Linked DNA regions of Homo sapiens: all the other regions are linked to region 1. Evidence: promoter capture Hi-C in human tissues and cell types (Jung and others, 2019). All regions are on one chromosome and are shown on one strand. Each heading gives the region's core, a stretch centred on a gene start or on the middle of the fragment in contact. The rest is flanking DNA. Distances are from core to core; before and after follow the strand shown.

What was found. The method cuts DNA at HindIII sites, captures the fragments that hold promoters and counts their contacts. A contact is called where the count stands out against the background at its distance.
Region 2: a fragment that was not itself captured here is called in contact with the fragment with the promoter of FOXB2 in region 1 in 4 of the 25 tissues and cell types used here (IMR-90 fibroblasts, mesendoderm cells, ovary and 1 more).
Region 3: a contact is called between a fragment that was not itself captured here and the fragment with the promoter of FOXB2 in region 1, in 1 of the 25 tissues and cell types used here (liver).
Region 4: a fragment that was not itself captured here is called in contact with the fragment with the promoter of FOXB2 in region 1 in 5 of the 25 tissues and cell types used here (dorsolateral prefrontal cortex, heart right ventricle, liver and 2 more).
Region 5: a fragment that was not itself captured here is called in contact with the fragment with the promoter of FOXB2 in region 1 in 7 of the 25 tissues and cell types used here (H1 embryonic stem cells, bladder, dorsolateral prefrontal cortex and 4 more).

Annotation. Positions count from the first base shown.
Region 1 is chr9:77,016,316-77,021,778 of GRCh38, forward strand. It overlaps FOXB2 (forkhead box B2), which reads left to right and starts at 3,340. Exons shown (of 1, transcript NM_001013735.1): 1 at 3,340-4,638. The coding sequence starts at 3,340. The coding sequence ends at 4,638. The HindIII fragment of the contact is 6,747 bases long and covers 106-5,463 here.
Region 2 is chr9:76,774,276-76,779,738 of GRCh38, forward strand. All of the region lies in intron 6 of PRUNE2 (prune homolog 2 with BCH domain), which reads right to left. The region is part of intron 1 of PCA3 (prostate cancer associated 3); the gene reads left to right. Among named protein-coding and RNA genes, the nearest start is that of PCA3, 13 kb to the left of the region's middle. The HindIII fragment of the contact is 8,675 bases long and covers 1-5,463 here.
Region 3 is chr9:76,823,877-76,829,339 of GRCh38, forward strand. PRUNE2 (prune homolog 2 with BCH domain) reads right to left here. Exons shown (of 19, transcript NM_015225.3): 5 at 2,704-2,856. Among named protein-coding and RNA genes, the nearest start is that of PCA3, 62 kb to the left of the region's middle. The HindIII fragment of the contact is 3,231 bases long and covers 1-2,918 here.
Region 4 is chr9:76,875,258-76,880,720 of GRCh38, forward strand. All of the region lies in intron 1 of PRUNE2 (prune homolog 2 with BCH domain), which reads right to left. Among named protein-coding and RNA genes, the nearest start is that of PRUNE2, 28 kb to the right of the region's middle. The HindIII fragment of the contact is 5,508 bases long and covers 1-4,824 here.
Region 5 is chr9:77,159,093-77,164,555 of GRCh38, forward strand. No RefSeq gene overlaps it. Among named protein-coding and RNA genes, the nearest start is that of VPS13A, 16 kb to the right of the region's middle. The HindIII fragment of the contact is 4,434 bases long and covers 1-4,417 here.

The DNA of each region.
Region 1 (5,463 bases), core at 2,090-4,589:
GTGGCCTAGGTGGTGGGAAGTACTTTCTACCCTCGCCAAGCACAACCTGAATGCGGAAGCGTGAGGCTCGGGGCGCTTCGCTCAGCCTCCGAGACTGTTTTGTCCCAGGTTGCGTGGAACCTGGCTCGCCGAGGCCGAAGACACTGGCCAAGCCCCTGGCGTCCCCTGGCGCTGAACCTGAGGTTGTGGCGGCGGGTCTGCGGGCTGTAGCGAGCTCACCCAGTGAGGGCCTGGCTCATTTTTTGTGCTCAGGGTTCGCGTTATGCGCCCAAGATTTGTCCCGGGAGTCCCTGAAGGGCCCCTCCCCTCGATCGGTTCCCAGGAGCCGCAAGTGCCCAACGGGCACGGTCCCAGAGCTGCTCCCCAAAAGGAGACTCTGCTGTTCCAGCAACCCGCGGAAGGGATGCTATCCGAGGTATCAACAAAAGATCCCTTTGCTCGAGCTGCGTGTGGGGTCGAAGTCCGGAGAGCCCTTAAGTGTGCGGCACGCAGAGCTCCTCAGCAGCGGCCTGACAGCGGTGCAGGAGACCCCAGCTTCCTGGGCTGGGACAGGGCTGTTGTCTCACGGTCTTGTTCCAAGGAAAAGGAGCCACCTGGCTCCAGCAGGCTCTTGTCAAACTGTGAGCGTCCTTGGAATTCTGTGGCTTCCCGAGGCCAAGAGGCTGTCCGCTGCTCGGCTCTCTCAAGTGTCTCAGCGGACAAAAATCGCGCAGAAACTCCTATGGCAGGAGGAAAGCTTCCGACATACAGTGAAAGAGAAAACATCTTACTTTGAAAAGGGCTTAGGACCAAGAAGCTGCTCTTTTCCCCGGGCCTTCTTGCAAGCTTCAGTCGTAACATCTATTCTCAGACGTCTTCTGGCCTAGGACAAACTGGCCACATAGAGCTAGCCAGAAATCTAGCTCCTGACTAAAGATGGAAATTACGGGCCTGACCCGCTCACGGCACTCCTGCGACCTGGCTAAGCCACCCCACGGACAGACGTGCTCCCACCGTCCAGCTCACCAAAAGCCAGAAGCTGAAAACACCCGATCTGGTGTCACCAAGGTTGCTAGTTAGGGGGCAGCCCCCCAAGCAGCTGGGCCGATGGCTTTCTTCCAGGTTAGGCGTGGGAAAACCGAGGGAGCCATAGTGTCCAAATGCTCCTTTCTCCTCAAATCGCCTAACGGGAAAGGACCCGTGAATTTCCAACTTCAGCCACCCTATTTTACAAATAATGAAACAGTCCCAGAGACGGAGAGTATACTTGTTTCTAAACTCTGCTTTTCCTCCCAGCTGAAGGGCAAAGGTAGCCAAAACGAGTATACAACTTCAGGTTCTCCCTGCAGTAAACTGGGGTTTCCTGCTGGGTGTTTGGATGAGTGCAGAGCAGGAACCTCCAAGCAGAAGGACCTCACTCCTGGGTTCATCCACCTCTCCCTCGCAGATCACACCAGGATCCTGTGGACTGATAATTTTTGCTTCCTATTTAATTATTTCCATTCCACCTCCTGCCTCGCCCTGGCCCCACACCACCGTGCTAAGAATAGCAAAGATTTCCTTCCAGCACACACAGGTGATGGGACCCCTGAATCCCCAACTCTTACTTCTGGCCCCAGCTCAGACATCGCCATCCCAGAGAAACCTCATCTTGTCCAACTCACTCGCTCCAGGAAAGTGTGGTGGAGCCTCCATTCGCCAAGCCCTTTAGTGCCTATTCTATTAATTTCTTGGTTACTGTTCGTCTCACCCTCTATACCGCGATGGTGGAGCTCGGATACTGTCTCCTGTCTCCCTGCACCTGGTGCCTCACATGCAGTTGGCGCGCAATAAAACTGAGATGAATTTGGCATTTGGTGAAAACACCCCATGCTTTCTTCCCCATGAGTTTTTCCCTCCAGCCCTCTAATCATCGGGGTTTCTTGCAGAGAAGAGGCCTTGAGGACACGATACTCTGAACTTGACCCAGAGTGTCTAGCCCAGGAAAAAGGGTTTGTAAGGAGAGAGAAGCTCACAGCGAGTAGATGAAAACAGGGAAGGGTAAAAGGAAGGGGGCGGAAGAGGGAGATGCCAGAGAGAAGAGAAGCAAGAAGGCAGTGTCCTGTTCCCCCTCCACCGTGCTTGGTGGCCCGGGTGGGGCGCAGCTGCGGGAAATGCACCCGGAGCTGTGCCCCCTCCCGGCGAACAGCCTGCGCCACCCGCCGCACCGGGAGGTGGCTGGGGGCTGCCGAGCGAGTGGTGAACGCGATGGGTGGAGAGCGCCCGAAACGAGGTGGAAAAGGGGGCGGGGGCGAGGCACGGCGCCTTCTTGCCCCTTCTTCAGCTACAGACGCGGCGGCGGCGGCTGAGTCCCTCAGCCTCGGTCATGTGATAGTCTCGAAGCGCTAGCTGCGGGGGTCTCGGCGTCTCGGGGACCATTACAAAACGCAGCCAGGAGAGCGCGTCGCTGCCACTGCCGTCGCCTCTCCTCCTCAAGACAAGCCCGGGAGAAAGGCGGCAGCTGCGGCGCGGACGGCTGAGCCTCCCCGGCCAGCACTCACCCAGCATTCGCAGACGCCCTCTCCAGCCCGCCGCTCGCTCCCAGAGTCCTGCGCCCCACACTCCTCAGCAGAACCTGCGGGCGCTGCCGCTTCAGAAACCACCAAAGTTTTTTCTCCTCAGCGACAGCCTAGGGCTGCGCGTCTCTTCTAACCCCGGCGACGCTGCGAGCCTCGGAGAAAAGAGAGGCGCCCTAGAAGCCAATCTTCTCTCTCCTTACCCTGATTTTTCACTCCAGGAAAAGGAGAACTCCAGCGCGGTCTGGCTAAGTGCCTGGCCAGGGGCCTGCGTCCAGGGCACTGGAAGTCCTGCTGTCACTGGCCTCCAGGACAGCAGGCGCAAACTCAGATTTAAAGGGCCAGAGTCTCTACTGCCCAGACCTTCCTCCCAGCCATCTTGGTCTGGGTTTCCCTCGGACCTAGAAAAAGCAAAGAGGCCGGGAGGAAACACGGCCCCTTGCCACTCTCCTCTGCAGCCAGCTCCAGCACTCAGTCTTTGGCCACCCGGGGGAAGACGCAGAGAAGGCGGCGGTAAACCTGGTGCACTCCGCCCGCGACTGTGCGCGCCAGTCGGCAACCGTCGGGGCCAGAAGTTGCCAGCTTCCGAGAGCTGAGTAGGCCCGAAAGGCCAAGGTCGGAGACACCAGGCAATTCGGAGAAGGCAGGAGAGAGAAGCAGAGAGGGCCTGGAGGGCGAGAGGGCAAAGTGGCGGGACTGGAGGGGCCGAGTGGGAATTAGTGGGGGCAGCCAGGCCCCAGGAACGGAGTGCGGAGAGATTCTGTGGTCCAGTGCGGGCCGGAGGGCGGTGGAGGAGCCGGGGGCGATGCCGCGGCCGGGGAAGAGCTCGTACAGCGACCAAAAACCGCCCTACTCTTACATCTCGCTGACCGCCATGGCAATCCAGCACTCGGCCGAGAAGATGCTGCCGCTGAGCGACATCTACAAGTTCATCATGGAGCGCTTCCCCTACTACCGCGAGCACACACAGCGCTGGCAGAACAGCCTGCGCCACAACCTCTCCTTCAACGACTGCTTCATCAAGATTCCGCGGAGGCCCGACCAGCCTGGCAAGGGTAGCTTCTGGGCGCTGCACCCCGACTGCGGGGACATGTTCGAGAACGGCAGCTTCCTGCGGCGTCGCAAGCGCTTCAAGGTGCTGCGCGCCGACCATACTCACTTGCACGCGGGAAGCACCAAGAGCGCGCCGGGCGCCGGTCCGGGAGGGCACCTTCACCCCCATCACCACCACCACCCCCACCACCACCATCATCACCACGCTGCCGCACACCACCACCATCACCACCACCCACCCCAGCCGCCGCCGCCGCCGCCCCCGCCGCCGCCGCACATGGTACACTATTTCCATCAGCAACCGCCTACTGCTCCGCAGCCGCCTCCGCACCTCCCGTCACAGCCCCCGCAGCAACCGCCCCAGCAGTCGCAGCCTCAGCAGCCGTCTCACCCCGGCAAGATGCAGGAGGCGGCGGCCGTGGCGGCGGCGGCGGCGGCGGCCGCGGCAGCCGCGGTGGGCAGCGTGGGACGCCTGTCTCAGTTCCCACCCTACGGGCTGGGCTCGGCCGCCGCCGCTGCCGCCGCGGCCGCGGCGTCCACGTCAGGCTTCAAGCACCCCTTTGCCATTGAGAACATTATTGGCCGGGACTACAAGGGCGTGCTGCAGGCTGGAGGGCTGCCCTTGGCGTCCGTCATGCACCACCTGGGCTACCCCGTGCCCGGCCAGCTTGGCAACGTCGTCAGCTCCGTGTGGCCGCACGTTGGCGTCATGGATTCGGTGGCCGCCGCCGCGGCCGCCGCAGCCGCAGCCGGAGTCCCTGTAGGCCCGGAGTATGGGGCCTTCGGGGTCCCGGTCAAGTCCCTGTGCCACTCGGCAAGCCAGAGCCTGCCTGCCATGCCGGTGCCCATCAAGCCCACGCCTGCGCTGCCGCCCGTGTCCGCGCTGCAGCCGGGGCTCACTGTCCCCGCGGCTTCGCAGCAGCCTCCGGCGCCATCCACCGTGTGCTCCGCGGCCGCGGCCTCGCCCGTTGCCTCTCTGCTGGAGCCCACAGCCCCTACCTCGGCCGAAAGCAAGGGCGGCTCCTTGCACTCGGTGCTAGTGCACTCCTAGGGGACCCGGCGGGCGTGGGGAGACCAGCGGGGTGAGAGACGCCGGGCCCGGAACCGCCCAAACCACCCGACGGGGAGAGGGCGCCCTGGTCAGGCCGGGCAGAGCTGGCGAGTCTCAGCCTTTGCTGGAACGGAAGGTATTTAAATAGACGAACAACCCCGAAAAGTGGATTCTCCAGTGGTCTGAATAAATATAACCTTCCTGGTGTCTGTGTTTATACTATGTTGTACAATCAGATTAATGAAAGCCAATTTTCAGGTAAGAGTTTCTATTGTAATTAATATAAATCCATAAGTTATGGGGGGAGGGAACGAAGGAGGTTAGGAAAGCCTCATTCGCTGGTAAATTGGAAGTCGATTCTGACCCTTATTCCTGGGAGCAGAAGCTGGCAGAGCTAAACCTCCCGCGAAGAATCCAACAGAGAGTGACGCTGAAACGGATCTCAGCCACCACGTTTCTCTCTGCTGGTCGCATCCTCGGCGGTCGCCTCTCGTGAACATTCAAGACAAAACTGCCGTCCACTAAGGAAATTTCGTTTTATTTAAGAAGGAAAAGAGGAAGCGTTTGATACCGTTATTTTCCTAGTCAGCTAAATGGGCAAGGAAACGGTGTCATGAATAAAGTCGCTTTGGAGGGGGAAGGGGAGGAGAGGAGGCAGCGGGAACCCCACGAAATATCTTTGGGAAACAGCTAAGGTTCTTGGCTCTGACCTGGGGGTCAAGAAGGATAGGAGGAACCTCTAGAGCAATTAGTTTGTACAAAAGAGAATGGCAGCAGCTTAAAGGGTAAAGCCCCAAATTCCAAAAGTTGGGAAACACAACCAAA
Region 2 (5,463 bases), core at 1,316-3,815, 240 kb before region 1:
CAGGTGTGCACCACCATGCCCAGTTAATTTTTTGTATTTTTTTGTAAAGATGGGGTTTCACCATGTTGCCCAGGCTGGTCTTGAACTCCTGAGCTCAAGCAATCCACCTGCTTTGGCCTCTCAAAGTGTTGGGATTAGAGGCATGAGCCATCGTTCCTGGCCTCCAGTTCAACCCTTTTTTTTTTTTTTTTTTTTTTTTTTTGAGATGGAGTCTCACTTCTTGCCCAGGCTAGAGTGCAGTGGCACGATCTCGGCTCACTGCAACCTCCACCTCCCAGATTCAAGCAATTCTCCTGTCTCAGCCTCCCAGGTAGCTGGGATTACAGGTGTATGTCATCATGCCCAGCTAATTTTTGTGCTTTTAGTAGAGATGGGGTTTCACCATATTGGTCAGGCTGGTCTCGAATTCCCGACCTCAGGTGATCCACCCACCTCGGCCTCCCAAAGTGCTGGGATTACAAGTGTGAGCCACTAGGCCCGACCCAATTCTTTAAACCAGAATAAAATAATGATTTAAAGAAAGTTAAATATGGAGGAAACAGGGGAGCTTTAGCACCTTTGAGTAGTGAAAAGATTGTAGATTTTAGAGACAGAAAAACATGAGTTCAAATTCTGTTACCAGCTATGAATTACTTTTTGTTGCTGAGCTTCTATTTCCTCATCTATGTAATGGGAACACTAATATCTACTACACAGATGAGTTATGAGAAACAAAAATAATTTACATAAAGTTCTGGGCACTCTGTAATCACTCAGTGAATTATAAAACACCATACTTCAAGTCCCAAAGAAGAAAAAAAATTTGCCCTGTTACTTGCTAAGCTGAACCGAATAGGACCAGACAGAAAATCAAGTTTATTTGGTCGGGGGGAAAGAAAGGACTTTTTCACTAACCATCTGTGTGAAACACTGGAGGAGAAACAAGAGTCTTAGAATTTGGGAGTATAAATGAAAACATCCAGCTAGAATGCATCTCTTTGCAATGACAAAGAGGAACAATATTCTCAGAGGACCATTTTGTACTTTGTCTTTTTTTTTTGAGACAAGGTCTCACTCTGTCTCCCAGCCTGGAGTGCAGTTGCACGATCACAGTTCACTGCAGCCTTGACCTTCCAGGCTCAAGCGATCCTCTCACCTTAGCCTCCAGAGTAGCTGGGACTACAGGCATGCACTACCATGCCCAGCTAATTTTTGTGGTTTTTTTTTGTAGAGATGGGATCTCGCTATGCTGCCCAGGCTAGTCACAAACTTCTCAGCTTAAGCAATCTGCCTGCCTCAGCCTCCCAAAGTGTTGGGATTACAGGTGTGAGCTACTCTGCCCAGCCTATTTTGTCATTTTAAAAATCATTTTCTCAGTCTGTCCATATTTCTTCTCTTCAGGTATGCAAGGAATGTTATCTCTTTACATTTGCCCTAGAACTCCTCAAATTTTCTTGGATGTGAAAATAGTTGTACATCATCCCATTTCAGGCAAATTCTCTTGGGCCTTACCTCTCCCAGAAAAAGCACAAGGATTGCTCACCCGGCCTTCATGCCGGCTATGCAGGCCCATTTCTAACACATCCTTCTCTAGCCTTTAGCTCGGACCAACACCAAGTACCACCATTTCTATAACTTCCATTACTCCCCTCCTCCTATGACTACACATCCCTAAACCTAATTCCACTCTTCTCTATTTCCTTCCAAAAAATTCCAGCATTTTCTGGTGTGAGATTTGGGAGGGATAGGAATAAGAAAGAACACTGATACTACTTCTAAGCATCCCTTCTTTATAACTACAAAAGACAATCTCACGTGCACAGAGTAATCAACTCATGAGTAAATATTTAACATTTCAGTAAAGACAGTAAGCACAAATGAAATTTTTTAAATTTTTGTAAATTTTAGGGGGTACAAGTGCAGTTTTGTTACATGGATATTGAGTAGTGGTGAAGTCTGAGCTTTTAGTGTAGCCATCACCTGAATAGCAGACATTGTACCCAATGGGTAATTTTTCATTCCTTACCACCCTCCCGCCTTCCCACCTTTTGGACTCTCCGATGTTATTATTTCACTCTCTGTGTCCATGTGTACACACTGTTTAGCCCCCACTTACAAGTGAGACCATGTGGTATCTGATTTTCCATTTTTGAATTATTTCACATAGGATAATGATCTCCAGTTCCATCCATATTGCTGCAAAAGCTGAGTAGTATATCACGGTATACATTTACACCACATTTTCTTTTTTTTTTTCTTTTTTCTTTTTTTTTTTTTTTTGAGATGAGTCTCGCTCTGTTGCCCAAATTGGAGTGCAGTGCACAATCTCGGCTCACTGCAACATCCGCCTCCCGAGTTCAAGCAATTCTCCTGCCTCAGCCTCCTAAGTAGCTAGGATTACAGGTGCCCGCCACTATGCCTAGCTAGTATTTCTAGTTTTAGTAGAGATGGGGTTTCACCATGTTGGCCAGGCTGATCTCGAACTCCTAACCTCAAATGATCCACCCACCTCAGCCTCCCAAAGTGCTGGGATTAAAAGTTATGAGCCACTGTGTCCAGCCAGCAGTTTTTTTTTTTTTTGTATGTTTGAAGATACATGAAGCTTTCTCTTGAGTTTCTTTCTCATTACCAAAACACATACACACACACACACACACACACACACACACACACACACACACACACACACACAAAGGGCCTGGACCTTTCTTCCACTCAGCGGAGATTCTCGGCACTCCTAAACTGTTCCTCTTGGGTTGGGTTCCCACATCTGCCACTGCACCAATGCCATCAGGGTAGCTTCCTCTTGGGCCCTTCTTTCTCCCCTGCCCCATAGCCCTTGAGGTTGTATATTGCTGAGAGATGATGTTGTTTGAAGGAGAGAAGTGGGGGAGGGCAGAGAAGGGAAGAAATGCAATGACCCAAAGCATGTGAAACTGCTAGGGACAAAGGGTAAGAAAGACCATTCCAGGATTCCACAATGAAGTAGGAGAGGGGTGCCAACCTCAGTTTTAGTAGGGAGGCTTCTCAGACTGCCCTGTTCTCAACAGTGGGGAAAAAGTCTTCTGAGAAAGAATATAATAAGCACAGGAATGGTGGGAAGGCAGAAAATCGAAGTAAGCAGGAGCACTGGCCAGCCATGCCCACCATGCTCTGTAAAATGCTATCCCAGGCACAGAGCTCTGAGCTCAGCACACAGATGTCACTCCATACAGTTTGCTGGCTGACTGAAGAAATGAATTTCAGGGGCAAGGACTCCTTTGCGCCTTCCCAAATGTATTCATTTATTCAATTCAATAAATATTTGTTAGTCCCAATTTATGCAAGGCATTCTTGGGGATACAGTATTAAATAAAACAGACAAAAATCCCTACCCTCGTGAAAGTCACATTTCAATGCTGGTGAAACACAATACATATATAAACAAGTAGACATGTTATATGTCAATGGTTGATGGGGCAGTGCAGAAAAATCAAACAGGATAAGGTGGATAGAGAATATCAGGGGAAAGGGAAGTATTATTTTATATAAGATGGTCAGGGAAGATGTCACCATTTACATGACATTTGAGCAGAGAATTGAAATAAGTTCAGGGGGCTAACTATGCAGGTATCTAGGGAAACTGTTTTCTAGTCAGAGAGGGGACAGCAGGTACAAAGTCCCTGAGGCAAAAGCATGCTTGCTGTGTTCTAGGAAAAGCAAGGAAGACAGCATGTCTATAGCAGTGGGAGGTGGAAGGATAATAAACAGTAGGTGAGGTTAGAGGGGACCAAATCATGTATTTTCCATCCAGAGGTTCCCAACCTTGGCTGCACATTAGATTTATTCTAAGGAGCTTTTAAAAAATACCAATGACTGGGTCCCAGCCTAGAGTGATTAAATCAGAATCTCTGGAGGTAGACTTGAGAATCTGATGTTTGCAAGTTTCCTAGGCAAGTCAAGGCTGAGGAAGACTGCTGCAGGCCATTGTAAGAGCCAGGCGTTGATCTCATTCAACCTTTCCCTCAGCTCTTCTAGAGACAGCCAGCATTCTCTTATGGCACAAATACAGCCTTTCACCCTCACAGAAAGACACAGGACAACAAATTCAATAAATTAATTCACTGGCATGGATGATTTTCTCAGACTAATTGTTTCCAGTTTGATAGGAGACAATTAAAGGCTGGAAGGCACTGGATGCCTGATGATGAAGTGGACTTTCAAACTGGGGCACTACTGAAACGATGGGATGGCCAGAGACACAGGAGATCAGTTGGAGCAAGCTCAATAACAAAGTGGTTCAACGAGGACTTGGAATTGCATGGAGCTGGAGCTGAAGTTTAGCCCAATTGTTTACTAGTTGAGTGAATGTGGATGATTGGATGATCATTTCTCATCTCTGAGCCTCAGGTTCCCCATCCATAAAATGGGATACACAGTATGATCTATAAAGTGGGATATAGTATGATCTACTTCACTGGGTTATTTGAAGGATGAATTGAGATAATTTATTTCAGGTGCCTAGAACAATGCCCAGATTAGTACATTTGGTGGAACTGAGAAATGGCATAACACCAAATTTAATATATGTCAGATGTTACTATGATTATCATTCAATCTCATAGTTTTGTCATGGCCCAATTTATCCTCACTTGTGCCTCAACAAATTGAACTGTTAACAAAGGAATCTCTGGTCCTGGGTAATGGCTGAGCACCACTGAGCATTTCCATTCCAGTTGGCTTCTTGGGTTTGCTAGCTGCATCACTAGTCATCTTAAATAAATGAAGTTTTAACATTTCTCCAGTGATTTTTTTATCTCACCTTTGAAGATACTATGTTATGTGATTAAATAAAGAACTTGAGAAGAACAGGTTTCATTAAACATAAAATCAATGTAGACGCAAATTTTCTGGATGGGCAATACTTATGTTCACAGGAAATGCTTTAAAATATGCAGAAGATAATTAAATGGCAATGGACAAAGTGAAAAACTTAGACTTTTTTTTTTTTTTGGAAGTATCTGGATGTTCCTTAGTCACTTAAAGGAGAACTGAAAAATAGCAGTGAGTTCCACATAATCCAACCTGTGAGATTAAGGCTCTTTGTGGGGAAGGACAAAGATCTGTAAATTTACAGTTTCCTTCCAAAGCCAACGTCGAATTTTGAAACATATCAAAGCTCTTCTTCAAGACAAATAATCTATAGTACATCTTTCTTATGGGATGCACTTATGAAAAATGGTGGCTGTCAACATCTAGTCACTTTAGCTCTCAAAATGGTTCATTTTAAGAGAAAGTTTTAGAATCTCATATTTATTCCTGTGGAAGGACAGCATTGTGGCTTGGACTTTATAAGGTCTTTATTCAACTAAATAGGTAAAGAAACCTCCATGACAGGAATCTGAAACATTGTCCCTGGTGCTCATAAATTCTCCACTGTATTGTCTGAAATGACTTATCTCAGTCCTGACTGTGGGCTCAGATTTACTGTACAGTTCATCAACT
Region 3 (5,463 bases), core at 53-2,552, 190 kb before region 1:
CTAAGGCAATAATCACATCACGTCTGCATCAGTTAGGATCCCAATAGGAAAAATGCACCTCTTTTGCTGCAAAAGAAGATGTGTTAATGGCAGGACACTTACAGAGATGTGGGCTGGGTGAGAAAGTGAATAAAAGATGATGAGGCATCCAGAGACTAGCAAAGGGACCCAGAAAGAAAACAGAGATCTGTAACTTGAGAAGACTGGCTGCAGAAACTTCCACCTAAGCAGGAAGAAGGCAAGGAAGATCCACTACAGTCTCATTCTTCTCCTCGCCTCCATCCCTACCTGTTCCTAACTCTTCCTATTGGTCAAACCCAACCAGAAGCCAGTGTTGTGGGAGCCCATAAGATTAAATACTTAGGGGTCCACCTCTGGAGCCCCAGAGCAGACAAAGGCAGGGAATAAAAGGGTGGCGGTGGACAAATGAAGAAAAATTAACATCACCATGCAAACTAGTTAAGTAACACCAAAGAAAGCCAAAACTGGCTTTCAGGCTGCATTTAGGTAAGCCCCCATGTTTTCTAGTATAATTTCATTCAAAATGCACTTTACAAATGTGACTCGTAAGACTATCTTAATTAAGTTGCTTACCCTCGTAATAGGCTCTGACAATAAGAGTTATTAAATTCCCTAATTAATGGGAGTAATAATCCAGAATGGCTAAATTATCCAGAACTGCATAGTTGTAGTCAGTTGACCAATGGAACTCAATGAAATCTATCACAGTAAAGCAGCAAAGGATCTGGCTCGACATTTAATTCTCGCGCTACATTATTACGTCTGATTAGGCCTACTCTCTTGGGAGGAAGATCTATAATAAAGCCTGGTAAAGCACTGCACCCTTCCCAGACGTATGTTAAGGCTTCAGAGACCACTGCTTGCACTACCTACTTACAATGCTCTGTCAATCACATGAGGAAACAGACAGGCACTAAATATTTTTCTTTGACTCAAAAATTGAAAAGCCACAATCTTTCACAATGCAGCGTAAAATGATTCATTGAAGACATTGTGACATTAAAAGTTTGGTGTCATTGTGAAAATGAATGACAAAACACATTCCCTTGTGCAGCATACACACAAGGACATGCACATCTATGCATAGGTAACAGAAGGTGCAATGGACGCTGCAAAGGCCCCACCCCATTTCCTCAAACTTTCCCATCCCAGTGCACCCAGCATGATGCTCCACCACCAGCACCTGCCTCTCTTTTCCTGAGGGCTTTCCTTGGCCACCAGAGCCTACACTGGAGAATTAAGGCCCCCTGGGTCTGAGTAGCCCACACTCTTCCAGTGGTCTGCTGGTAAATGTTTAACGGCCAGTAACAAATCCTGATTTGTAGTGTTTGTCAATTTCAGGGATCTAAATACTCCTACCATGGCTGATCTCAAGCTACCAATCATCACTCAACTCACAAAATTCCTGAACATTTAACCATCAGCTCCTGGAGCCGAGATGAGCACACCACTGCATCCCTCAGGTGGGACAGAGTTTACACTCTTTCTCATGGTCTCTGGTGGGATTAAGCTCTGGTTTCCCATGGAGCCAACTTGCTTGCTGAAGCATTCCATTCCCCTATCAGTGTTGACTGGAACCACCTCCCACATAAACCACTTTGCCTCAGGCTCTGCCCCCTCCTGCCCCTGGGGATGGGGTTCCTGAACTAAGAGAGAAAGTTATGTAATTTAGTGTTTACATCTTAAAGACATATAGGCTGGGTTTAGGCCTTGCCTGGCCACCTGCCTGCTATGTGTGTTTGATGTTGGGAAAGCAATGAAGGCTTTCTGCACTTCAGTGTCCTCCCTCACCTGCAGACTGGGACGTCAAAGCACTGACTCTTGGGGTTGTCATGAGGAGGATTCAGCAAGAACATCCTTGCCAAGCTATGCCATCAAAACCTGTATACAGTAGGTATCCAGTGAATTATAGCCTTTTGTTATTGTAAAACAGTTGATCCAGGAAATTCACTGTCCTGACAAAGCCTAGACTCTGACAACAGTTTCTTCAACATAGCCATCTTCTCACTCATTTCCTTCTCAAATTAACTGATTTATGAAATCCCATTGTGCTTGATATTGCTCCTTCCATCTTCTCAAAATAGAATCCTATCAGCATAAGGATTGCATGTAATAATGCACCTGAGATATGCACTAGAGACATGAATTAACCACACATCCAGACACAAAGGCCTCGGAGGAGAGGCCACAGTACAAGCTGTCTATTTGCAGGGGAGTCAACATTATGTGCCTGAAAACCTTCCACCAGCACAAGCAATAGGAAGAAGGTGAAACACATTCAAATGTACCTTCTCAGCTGGGCATGGTGGCTCACACCTGTAATCCCAGCACTTTGGGAGGCCGATGCAGGTGGATGACTTGAGGCCAGGAGTTCGAGACCAGCCTGGCCAACATGGTCAAGCCCTGCCTCTACTAAAAATGCCAAAAATTAGCTGACTGTCATGGTGCATGCCTGTAATCCCAGCTACTTGGGAGACAGGCATGAGAATCACCTGAACCCGGGAGGTCGAGGTTGCAGTGAGCTGAGATCATGTTACTGCACTCCAGCCTGGGGGATAGAGTGAGACTCTGTATAAAAAACAAACAAAGAAACAAATATACCTTCTCAGGTCTGATGATGCTCCATGCCACAAACCATCCCTACTCGGGAGGGACAAGAGAGCTGGGGACAGAGTCACTCACCCTGAGCACTGAACTGGGTCTCCTGTAGGACGTTGATGATGTCCTCTCTTGGAGGCAAGTTAGGAAATTTTTCTTCCAGGATAGAAAGAATTTCCTCCTGCTTCTCTGAGATCTTCTCTGATTCCATGGTCATCCACTTGAAAAGAATGCTACCTGAAAGGTATGAATAAAAATGCTCTTAAAGCTTTCCAGCCAAGCCAGAACAGGGGCCAAGAAAATCAGTGTTTCCTGGCCTCTCAATCTAAGCTTTCCATTTCTGTCTCTCACCTGGACCAGAGTCCTCCACACGTAACATTCAAGAGCCAATTTTTAGAAAACAATTGAACCATCATCCAGCTTCATTATTCTCCAAGTACTGCTCTCTACAACTTAACTGACCCTAGCATACTCTATGGTACAGAATTCACAGATAAAGGAAAAAAATGTGTATATTCCCCCAACCCCACACAAACACACAAAAAGATATGCATTGGTCTTAAATGATTTCAAAAAGGAAGTTAGTGGTAAACTATTTAAAAGTCTAATCAGCCTTATTTCCTTTAAAGGACCAGAAAGAATACTGTTTCCACTCATTATATTATTAATTTTACATACAAACTTCTTCCTTTTCACACTAAATGAATGTATAATCCCACGGTCAACAGCTGAGGAATCTGACAAGGTGGCTAACCTGACGTCCATTTCTGATCTCCCAAGCATCATACACAGTTTTAAAGTCATTTACAATTATCTAATTATAAGGACTCACAAGCTGGGTCTAAATCACAGGTTTAAATTACAAAGTAATTTTCCAGTGTGAAGGACCTTGCACAAACTCCTGTGACTTCTGTGGATAATCTCATCTTGAAAGGGAGGAGTTAGCACCCCATACGTACTCTTACTCTTCCCTGCATTCCAAGCCCAGATTAACACAGAGTCACCATGGGAGAGAGAAGTTTCGCTTAATGACAAATGATTAAGCTCTCTAAAAATCCCCAAATCTGTTGACTAATCAAAGTACTACCGTCTCTGTTTCAGTGTAGCCTTAACGCCAGTCATGGGGGAGGGAAAATGGAAAATAAATAAAAGAGGAAAGAAGGTAAAAGGGGAAATAAAGCATCCAGTGAGGGAAAACTATGGTACCCAATCCAAACACATGGCCTGAGACCTACAGAACCTAGAGATGAGGTCTACATTTACCATCAAACATGCTGGAAAGTCCCAAGCAAGTCGTCTGGCCTCCGTTTCCAGTTTCCCATTTTTAAAACAGGAATAATACTGCTTTCCCAGCTCACAGTGTTATACTAAGCATCAAATGAATGTAAACATCATAAAGAAAAGTAAATATTGCTAAATATATTTAAAGCATTTCATCCATTCATTCCCTCACAAACAATTACTGAGTGCCTTTTATCGGCCAGGCAGGGCTCTATGCTAACGATTCAAGATTAGGCTAGAGATAACCTTGCCTCTTGAAGCTCACGGGAGATTAGAGGTTACAAATAAGTAAGCACAGACATTTTCAATAGCAGAGAATAAGAAATATTATGGGTGAAATACATAGTACTCTGAATCTAGGCCAAAATCTAGGGTTCAGAGGAGTCTTCCTAGAGAAAGTTAACCTAAGCTGAGCTTGAAGGATAACTAGGGACTTAAGGCAAAGACAAGAGGGAGGTCATGATCCAGAAAGAGCCTGTGCAAAGGCACTGAGGTGGGAGGGAATTGGGCCAGTTCAAGGAACAGAAAGCAATTAATTACAGGTAGATGGTATGATTTTAGCAAGGGAAATGTTGAAAAATTAGGTTGGAGAGATAGAGATAGATAGCGGGACCATGAAGGGCCTTACAAGCCGCCTTAAAGTTTGTCTTTTATATTTTAAGAGGGATGAGGAATCTTTCAAGAGTTTTAAGTAGGGAAAGTAACATGCTCACATTTATGTTTTATAAGAATCACTCTGGCTATCATGCAGAGAAAAATTTAGATAAGGAATATGGGGAGAATCAGTAAGGAGGCTGTTTTGGATAAGAAAAAAGGAAAGAACAGTCAGCACACAGAACTAAACAGATTCCATTTCAACAGTCATTTGAAGGTGGAGGGCAGCCAGCTGGATTTTGTGTATACCCTGTGGTCTGTCAATCTCTGACATAAAACTCATACTATAAAGATTATTTTTCCAGCCGGGCGCAGCGGCTCATGCCTGTAATCCCAGCACTTTGGGAGGCCAAGGCTGGTGGATCACCTGAGGTCAGGAGTTTAAGACCAGCCTGCCCAACATGACAAAACCCCATCTCTACTAAAAATACAAAAAATGAGCCAGGAGCGGTGGCGGGTGCCTGTAATCCCAGCTACTCGGGAGGCTGAGGCGGGAGAATTGCTTGAATCTGGGAGGCGGAGGTTGCAGTGAGCTAAGATCACGCCACTTCACTCCAGCCTAGGAGACAGAGTCTCACTCTGTCTCAAAAAAAAAAAAAAAAAAAATTCCCCTCTTTATTAAGGCAATGGTAAATATGAATTTCAGAAAAGATCTTCATCTGCCTCTCGCTCTGATAGACTGCTTGTACTAAGAACAAGGATAAAAGCTAAATCAAGTTTTTAAAAATCTGTGAAAGTATCACAGAGTTACCCAAGTAACTGTCTTGGAAGCTAAGGTCCTGGAGAGAGGGTAAGTGCACAGAAGTGAGCCCAACATTTGGTGTTGCTTTTCCTCTTAGGATATTTGCTAATTCATAAGTGATAAAATAAGCCAATAGGCTGAAAAAATTAGCAAATCTAACAGAAGTT
Region 4 (5,463 bases), core at 821-3,320, 140 kb before region 1:
CCTTCAATACTCTTCAGTACTGGAGATTTCTGGGTTGTAAATAGATGTTATCATATCTATTTGTCCCAAACTGTGAGCAACTTGAGGGCTAGCTCTGTGTTTTTTGTTTGTTTGTTTGTTTGTTTTTTGAGACAATCTTGCTCTGTCGCCCAGGCTGGAGTGCAGCGGCATGATCTCGGCTCACTGCAACCTCCGCCTCCCAGGTTCAAGTGATTCTCCTGCCTCAGCCTCCCGAGTAGCTGGGACTACAGACACGTGCCACCATGCCCGGCCAATTTTTGTATTTTTAGTAGAGACGGGGTTTCACCATATTGGCCAGGCTGGTCTCAAACTCCTGACCTTGTGATCTGCCCGCCTTGGCCTCCCAAAGTGCTGGGATTACAACTGTGAGCCACCATGCCCAGCCGGCTCTGTGTTTTAGCCACCTGTGTGAGTCCAAAGTCTCAAGATGTTCTCTGCACATAGTAAATAGTGACTCAATAAATGTTTATAATAGAATGAATAGGGAATGTGGGCACAGAGGTTCTCTCAACACCCAAGTCATACCACTGCTATCCATCCTTTCTTCCTATCTATGTCCCTTTGACACGTATCTCAAACTTGGGAGAACATCAAAATCATAGGGTGGGTGCAGAAGGCACCAAGAATAACTGTTAAAAACACATAGCCCTGGTCCCATTCTGCTATGTTCTTATCAGGTAGATCTGGAGTGGGGCCCAGTTATCTGTGTTTTGAACAAGCTCCCCAGGTGAATGCAATACGCACAAACATTTAAGAATCATGGCTCTATGGCATACTAGTAGTAGAAATTCCTATTTCCTGTGAGGTAGAGAAAATCATCTCTACAAATCTGCTTGCAAAATCTGTTTCAAGAAAAATGAAGCAACTAGACACAGAGGAACCGTCTTGGATTTTAGAAGAAAACCATTTAAGTAGATAGATGGAAATAAAAATACACAATGAATAAGCAGAACTCAAAATTTCTCTGGATTTGACTCAAGTGAATTACAGAGAATTGTCGAAGCAAGGAATAGCATGTTCTGCTTGGAACACTTCCTGTTTTTCTGCAAGGAAAAGCATTCCATGTCCATGACCCACAATGCTAGAGGCACTGAGGGTTCCTCCTGCTCACAATACTGACCCTTTTTGGGGGCCAGATTCCCCTGGACTTTTCAGAAATTTTCCAAGGCAGGCAATGGGTGATATTGATTCCATGGAGGCACCTACATAAACAAATAGATTTAAAATTTTCTCTTTCTTTCCCTTGACCTATTCCCTCTTTCTGTGCTACTCGGGGCTCCTCCCTCCCACCTAGACATACCTATTACACTTGGTGGCGTTTTTGGGTGGGAATGAGGCCCAACACTGTCCCACCATTTTTAGTGGAATCAACAAAGAGATCATCAGCACCTGCCAGTCATTCTAACTCTTCTGTTTCTAATACCGCTGCTAGCCAAATAAGCTACTTCCCACACTAGTTTTAAAATAACCATTGGATCTTGGAAGTGACTTAAACCCAAGAGGAAATTTTATATATAATTACCCCAGTGCCTGCCATCTCTAGAATTACAGTGACTCTAGAGAAATGCTAATCAAACTGCATTACATGAGATATTTTTAAGCATGGAATATAATACAGGTTGACACATCTGAAAGAAAGTTGTCTCCTCAGGATACCATAAGACACATAAAGCTTTCTGGAAAAGAGGCAGGAGACATAGGATACTGAGCCCAACTCTACTGCTAACTAGCAGTGAGTCTTTGATCTAGATATATGTGTCTTCTCAGCCTCATATCTTCATCTCTAAAATAATGAGACTGGACCAAATGATCATTAAGATTCCCTTCAAGCTTTAATGCTCTAGAACAAGTCTACAAAAGAACATGGGTATAGAAGAGGTATCCCAGGAAGATGTGCATTTTAAAAGAGGACCTATACATTTTTCATTAAAAAAAAAAAATTCAGACCTGGCGCGGTGCCTCATGCCTGTAATCCCAGCACTTTGGTAGGCCAAGACAGACAGATTGTCTAAGCTCAGGAGTTCGAGACCAGCCTGGGCAACATGGCGAAACCCCATCTCTACTAAAAATACAAAAAATTAGCCGGGTGTGGTGGCAGTCACCTGTAGTCCCAGCTAATCGGGAGGCTTGCTTGAACCCAGGAGGCGGAGGTTGCAGTGAGCCAAAATTGTGCCACTTGACTCCAGCCTGGGTGACAGAGTGAGACCCTGTCTCAATTAAAACACACACACACACACACACAAAGGAACAGCTTTCTAATGGTAGAATTTCATGAATTGCTGCACTCAAGACTCTGAGGTGTCCTTCTAGGAACCCCTCCAATCAGACTACCCAAAAGTGATCCCCCCAGCTGCTGAATATCTCTTGAGGTTTGTTTGATTAATACATAAGAAATACTGAGACATTAGAGTACAGTAATCAAGCATCGGTGAATGAATAATCTGCCATTTGAAGAAGGAAAATTTTCTCTGGGTTATAAATAATGCACAGTTAAATGTTTTTACAGGGGCAGGCAACTGCTACCTTTTATAATATCACTTCCAGCCACTAGGGCTTAGAGAGAATACCTGTTTAGTGGACAGATTTGCTCAAGACAGAACATAAAAACTACTTAGGTATAGTGTAAGATACACCATGACCCTAAGCGGTAGAGATGCGGAATCTGGACTTAGCAGGAAGTGGGGATTTAGCAGTGGTAGTGTTATCAATAGATTCCAGAGCTGATCAAGCAAGGCAGAGGTAGGAATCAATAGCTGCATCAGCAAGATGCTGCAGGTCCTGCTGATTTCTCAGAAATTGTGTTCTGCAGAAGACAGGTCAGCACTATGGTGAATCAGATAGTCCTTGAGGCCACTGCAGAGTCAAGGTATTGATGACTCTGGGCACAAGAATGCAGGCTGACCCCAAGGACAGGACAGCCAGTTAGAGAACCAAGCATTCTCTTTGAAGATGGCCAAAGAGAAGGAAAAGGGAAGAGCAGGTGGAAGAGTCCACTCTTAAAGCTCATGGACATGTTCCAAGGTGGGAATTCTTTGTAGGCAGGGAGGGTGTCATGAGCAAGAAGGTGAACCACAGTGCTGTTATGAAGAAGCGATTGCCCTCTTGGCTTCATTTTTCTCATCTAGAGTCAGGTCGCTTCTATCTGTGCAATGAAAAGTTGCTTAGAGAGGACCACAGAAGACCCACTGTCCAGAGAGCTCTTGAATCCTTAGAGAGAAGCTCTGTTGACTATTCACTAAGAGATGTGGGCTAGATCACCAACTTCAGAAAACTTAGAGTTCAGTAAAGATTTCTGAGGAGGGGTAAGAATATTACGTAGTCTTTAGAGATTTTCTTCCTTTATGATCTGTAAAATCTGCAAGGACAAGGTATTCATTCTCCTGGGTTAATTGGTTTTGTGGCAGGTACCATTAGGATTAGAGCATTTCTTAAGCTGTCTTCTAAAACTTAAAAAAATCCTACTACTTTGTCCTGACAACCCCCACCTACTCACCCAAAAGCAATCTGAATTACAAGGAATTACTCTTATTTTAAAGTGTATATTATTAAATACATAATTATACAAAGACTTCCCTTCTAGTCCTTTCCATCACCAAACTGTTTTACCAGCAAACAAAATTAGGAGTTAGAAAGTATTTTTTTGTTTTGTTTTCCACTTGAACTAATGATAAAATCTTACATTGGAATAGCTTTACAGAATATACTAACCAAATCCATAGCTTTTACCCCAGTCGACCCTCACAACCATGATGAAAAGTGAGTCAGGAAGCCTGTGCATAGGAAAGCATTTTCCAAAGTGTGTTCCAGTGAGCACTAGTAAACAGTTTGAAAGATATTGAGTTTAACAATGTTTAAACACATGGCCACATCACAGGCCCTCTCAGATGCTTCATGTTAGTTCACTGTAAATCTCCACGTGTATGTGGTCTGTATGAGAGAGACAGAGAAAGAAAACAGACAGAAAGAGATGTTTTGCAAACTTATTTGATCATAAAACCATTTTTCCATTGCATATCTTATGTAATACATGTTGGGGCCATCTGCACACCCCGATTTTGTTAAGACACAATGAATGTCTACAGCAAACTTTTAGCTATGCTATACTCAACAACATTTGACAAATGTTTACTCAACATCAGTGAACAAATATTTACTGAACACCACAGCAGATATAAAGCAAACCAGGAGATATTAGCAAAATAGATTAAAACCTCTGCTTTTATGTAGCTTATATTCTAATGAGGAACAAGGAAATAAACTAAATAAATGAAATGTGTAACATATCAAATAGAGATGAATATTAAGAAGAAAAAAATAACAGGGAAAAGTAATTGTGTGTGTGTGTGTCTTGGAAAGGGAACAATATTTTCAATAAGGTGACCAAAGAAGCCTCCTTGGAATGATAGTTAAGTAAGGCCCCAAAGGAAGTGCGGGAGGGTTTGTTGCACATTTGGAAGAGAAGCATTCTCAGCAAAGGGTACAGCAAAGACCCTGAGGTGGAGGTATATCAAAAAAGAAGATCTGAAATCTGATTAACACAAGGCCCCGTTTTTTATTTCCACTGTAAAGATTACTCAGTTCTGTAAGAAAGAGGCCTGTCATATATATATATATATATATATATATTTTTTTTTTTTTTTTTTTTTTTTTTTTGAGACGGAGTCTCACTCTGCCACCCAGGCTGGAGTGCAGTGGTGCAATCTCGACTCACTGCAAGCTCCGCCTCTGGTGTTCATGCCATTCTCCTGCCTCAGCCTCCCGAGTAGCTGGGACTACAGGCACGCGCCACCACGCCCGGCTAATTGTTTGTATTTTTAATAGAGACAGAGTTTCACCGTGTTAGCCAGGATGGTCTCGATCTCCTGACCTTGTGATCCGCCCTCCTCGGCCTCCCAAAGTGCTGGGATTACAGGCGTGAGCCACCATGCCTGGCCAGAGGCCTGTCATTTTTTAAAGCCATCCATGTTTTAAGTACACATAATTCACAATTCCTGTACTTCACTGTGAGGAATCAAAGTCCTTCATTTGTGGTCCTCAGACCGCAGGGGGGTCCCTGGGTAACTTTGAGAAGGTCTGTGAAGTCAAATCTATTTTCATGAAAATTAGAAGACACTATTTGCCTTTTTTGCTGTGTAGACATTTGTACTGATGGCTTTTTTGCTGGGTAGACGTCTGCACAAAAGCAGTGGTGAGTAAAACTGCCAGAGCCTTAATCTATCAAATTATGCTAGTAGTCACTGTACTCTTCACAGCTGTGACCTCACAGGACCAAAATTGCTAGTTTCACTTGTGAATTTCCTCAATGAAACATTAAAAAATAAATTAATTTAATTAAATCCCAAACCTTGAGTACACACATATTTTTTAATACTCTGTGATCAAATGGGAAGTACGCATAAAGCATGTCTTTTGCATTTTGAAGACGAAGCATTATCTAGAAGT
Region 5 (5,463 bases), core at 951-3,450, 140 kb after region 1:
AATGCTATAGAAATGATCCTTATTTATTTGTGTTTCCATAATTTGAATCAACTTTGATCCACTTTCGTGAAGGCTTCCTGTTTCTCCCAAGCAGTTGTGGGTTCTTCTTCCAGGTTTCTGTTGTATATTGAACATGCATCCTTCATGACAATTAGTATATTGTAGCATAATTGGTGTATTAGTCAGGGTTCTCTAGAGGAACAGAATTAATAGGATAGACGTCTATATGAAAGGGAGTTTATTAAGGAGTATTGACTCACAAAAGCACAAGGTGAAATCCCACGATAGGCTGTATGCAAGCTGAGGAGCCAGGAAGCCAGTACGAGTCTCAGAACCTCAAAAGTAGGAAAGCTGGCCAGGCGCAGTGGCTCACGCCTGTAATCCCAGCATTTTGGGAGGCTCAGATGGGCTGATCACCTGAGGTCAGGAGTTCGAGACCAGCCTGGCCAACAAGGTGAAACCCCGTCTCTACAGAAATTAGCTGGGGGTGGTGGCATGCACCTGTAATCCCAGCTACTCGGGAGGCTGAGGCAGGAGAATCGCTTGAACTCAGGAGGCGGAGGTGGTAGTGAGCTGAGATGGCTCCTCTGCACTCCACCCTGGGCATCAAGAGCGAGAATCCATTTAAAAAAAAAAAGTAGGGAGGCTGAAAGTGCAGTCTTCAGTTTGTGGCCAAAGTCCTGAAAGCCCTTGGCAAACCCACTGGTAAGTCCAAGAGTTAAAAAATTGAAGAACCTGGAGTCTGATGTTCAAGGACAGGAAGCATCAGCACAGGAGAAAGATGGAGGCTGGAAGACACAGCAAGTCAGCACCCTCCAGCTTCTACCTGATTTTTCTAGCTGTGCTGGCATCTGATTGGATGATGCCCACCCACATTGTGGGTGGGTCTTTCTGAGGGTGGGTCTTCCTCTCCCAGTCCACTGACTCAAATGTTAATCTATTCTGGCAACACCCAGATACACCCAGCAACAATACTTTGCATCCTTCAATCCAATCAAGTCCACACTGAATATTAACCATCACAATTGGTCATGTGCTTTCCTTCCCATAGATGCAATGTTCCTTGAAGAAAGACTGTGTCTCCATATCTATTATAACCTGACACAACTGGTGCTTAGTAAATATTCATTAAGGTAGAGATTGGTCTGACTTACTAGCTACAAGGAGGATTTATGAACCTTAATATGCCTGTCAGTATTTTGAGAGAAGTCTGGATATGTCCAACCCATCCTTAACCCATTCCCCGTTTAGAAAACAAATGTGCAGCTCACTGCCAGTGCAGTATTCTCAGGGCAAATGGGAAATGGGTTAAGGGGATATATGTTAACCAAGACTAAAAGAAGTCAATAAAACTTTTTTTCTTAATTGCAACACTTCAGCTATTCTGTTCCAAGTCATCTTTCCTCATTTTGCCATAACAATCCACAGTTCATTACTTTAGGTTGACCCATGTGAAACTGATGATAATCAACTATTTTAGACTAGGACACTCAGCAATATCATATGGCTTAACCTAAAAATGTCAAGGAAGATGGGAGATGTGAACTTGTCAATGCATCTAACACCTCCAGGGGTATCATCTAATTTTCTTGTAAGCTTTTGACACCTTCTCCTTAGAACTATAAAATTGCCACATAACTCAGTTTTCCTTGGCATCTTTGCAACAAAAATATCCCTAGGGTTTCCTCCTACATGCAAAATAGCAGTAAATTACCATGATTACAAAGGTAAAGGTAAAATATCCTGAAACAAAGAGAAATGCAGATTATCATTTGGTGGACGTGTTTTGCTAGGGAAATAGGTGATGTCAGAGGGCTGCCTTCTGTTTCTATTCTAAAGAACAAAGGTGAGAAAAAATAAGAATTAATGTTGTGACATTAAGGACATTGTAAAAAAAATGCAAAACATGTCTGCATATGTAGGTGTGTATATATATTTCAATTTTCTATTTTATTAGTTGTGGCAATTATAATTTGGTTTACAACAAACTTTACTAGCAAAGAAAAGGAAGGAAGGAAAAAGGAAGAAAACTAGGAAGAGGAAGAAAAAGGGGGGCGATGACAAGGAGAAAAAGAAGAAAAAGAAACAAGATCTCCTTATTTAAAAAGAATTAATCCTCTACTTGTGTTTAATGGAGCAAAGCAGCTGCTATGACACCTTGAAAGAAAACTGTCAACAATTCCACTGATCTCCTTGAAGTGACCAAGTCATGGTGGCAAAGTCAAGCATGGCTCACTCATGAATCTCAGACATTTCTGTCACCAGAGTCTACACCCTGCAGACAGTGGCAGGCAAACAAGGGGCAGGAGATAGGCTCAGTGCCAGAGACGTCAGCATTGTTGAGGAGCAAGCTTGACCATCCAGGATCATGTTGGGTTACAGAGGTACAGAAGTGTTGGGATATAGAGATTTAACAAGAGTGGGTTCAAAAGAGACGACTGTCAGCCAGGCATGGTGGTTCACACCTGTAATTCCAGCACTTTGGGAGGCCGAGGCAGGCAGATCACTTGAGGCCAGGAGTTTGAGACCAGCCTGGCCAACATCATGAAACCCCATCTCTACTAAAAATACAAAAATTGGCTGGATGTGGTGGCGCATGCCTGTAATTCCAGCTACTTGGGAGACTGCAGCAGGAGTATTGCTTGAGCCGGGGAGGCAGAGGTTGCAGTGAGCCGAGATCATGCCACTGCACTCTAGCCTGGGCAACAGAGAGAGACTCTGTCTCAAAAAAAAAAAAAAAAAAAAAAAAAAAAGAGAGAGAGAAAGACTACTGTCATTGTCATTATACTTTGAGTTATATTCATACTCCAGGAAGGAGAAAAATGAAGATTCATGGATTAAATGTGGAAATCTACTAGGAAAACCAGAAACCTCCTGTCTGACTGCTTTTATTTCATTTCGTGGTTTTCTGAAATATTTTTAACATTTTGAAAACTAAATCTTGACCATAAATATTTTATTTTATGTACAAATAATCTACAATAAAGATATGATTATCAGGTTTGAAATTGTAGTAAACTACTTTAAAAGGAGAAGATTTAGAAAGATGGAAGCATAGCACACTCTCCTGGCTCATGTGTGTATCAAAACAATATGAATAAGCTCCACTCACTTGTTTCTTCATGTACAACTTGCAAGATTTCTCCACTTTTTTCTGTCTCCTCCCATCTCCCTCTCTCCCTCCCTCTTAGTTTTAAAGGGTGTTTTTTTCTGAATACAAAAGGAATACATACCCAGTGAAATAAATTCAGTGATCATCAAAACATAAAAGAAACTCAGAACTTATCCCTGATTTCACCACCTGAAGACAATACTATTACATCCTAGTGTAAGTTCTTCCAGACTATTTTCTATGCAAATGCCCACCAAGTTGAACAAATATCTGGAACTCTCAGCACATAGCAAGGACTCAAAAAAAGTTGGCTGTTGGCTGGATGTATTGGCTTACTCCTGTAATCCCAGCACTTCGGGAGGCCAAGGGAGACAGATCACTTGAGGTCAGGAGTTTGAGATCAGCCTGGCCGACATGGTGAAACCCTGTCTCTACTAAAAATACAAAAGATAGTTGTGCATGGTGGCACATGCCTGTAGCCCAGCTACTTAGGAGGCTGAGGAACGAGAATCACTTGAACCCAGGAGGCAGAGGTTGCAGTGAGCCGAGATCACACCATTGCACTCCAGCCTGGGGAACAGAGCTAAATTCCGTCTCGAAAAAAAAAAAAAAAATTGGCTGTTAACACTCTTTTATTTTTAACCAACCTTTTGAACTTAAGATATTCTAAATACATTTTCTTTCAAAATGTATATGATCATTTGAATGAATGCAATTTGCATAATAATTCCTCTATTAATGGATAATGAGCTTTATTTTCTACTTTTCTTTATTATACACTATGCAGTAAACATCCTCATTCCTACAGATTTGCACATATGTCCATTTTTCCTAAAAATAAGGCAGACTTGTGTATAAACTATTCCAGTAGTTTGATCTCTGGCTTATTGCTAAAACTTTCTGTGCATTAGTTTCCTCAATTGTAACAGTTGGTAATAATATCTGCTTGCAAAGTTGTTGTAAGGATTAAATACTTATGTCTATAAAGTGGCACTACAGAGCCTGGCTCAGAAGTAGAATTCAATAAATGATTATTTTTCTTTAAAATAATTTACTAAAAATAGACTACTTGGCTCAAGGTTAAGCACAATCCAAAAGCTATTTACAAATACTGTCGAATGGACATCCAGAAAAATTATACCAATTTCTTCTGCTATCAGTAGGGTTGGAAGTTTCCCATTTACCATTTCCTTCAGAACTCTGGGTGCTACCAATTTTTTAAATCTTTGTCAATTTTATAGGTGAGAAGCACTTTCTTGTTTTTTATTTGGATATATTTTATTAGCTGGAAACGACATATTCTTATACATTTATTAGGTATTTATTTCTCTCACGAATTGTCTATTCAAATCAATTGCACATCTTTCTGCTGAGTTCTTTTAAAAATTTGAAAGAGTAAACTTTAAGGGTATCCTGTATTTTAATAACATCACAACTTTGAAATCTTGTTTTCAGGCCCGGAGCTGTGGCTCATGCCTGTAATCCCAGCACTTTGGGAAGCTGAGGTAGGCAGATCATTTGAGGCCAGGAGTTTGAGACCAGCCTGGCCAACATGGCGAAACGCCGTCTCTACTAAAAATACAAAAATTAGCCAGGCATGGTGGCATGGGCCTGTAATCCCAGCTACTGAGAGAGACTAAATATCCAATTTTAAGAATTGTTGTCCCCTAATTCAAGTTAAGTAAAATGTATTCCCTTGTTTTACATAATTATTAGATTTTAAGCCAGGGCTTCTCGACCTCAATCTATTAACATTTGGAGCTGGTTAATTATTTGTTGTAGGAGGATTTCCTGTGCATTGTGGAATGTTTAACAGCATGTCTGGCCTCCGTCGAATGTCTGAAGACATTGGCAAATGTCCCATGAGGAGCAAAATCACTCCTAGTTGAGCAACACTTCTCTAAGCTAATCATCGTTGGGTGGTGCCTTAGTTCATTTCATGCTGCAATAACAGAATACCACAGACTGGGTAATTTATAATGAACACAAATTTATTGGCTCACAGTTTTGAAGGCTGGAAAGTCCAATATCAAGGTACTAGCATCTGGTGAGGGTCTGCTTCTTGTGTCAACTTATGGTGGAAGGTGAGAGGGCATATGAGAGAGAGAGAGCCCAACTGAAAGACTTTTTATTAAAGCATTAAACCTACTCATGAAGGTGGAGCCTTCATGGCCTAATAACCTCTTAAAGGCAGCCCCACCTCCTAACGCTGTTACAATGACAATTAAATTTCTTTTCTTTTCTTTTCTTTTTTTTTTTTTTTTTTTTTGAGACAGAGTCTCAGTCAATCGCCCAGGATGGAGTGCAGTGGCGTGACCTCGGCTCACTGCAACCTTCACCTCCCAGACTCA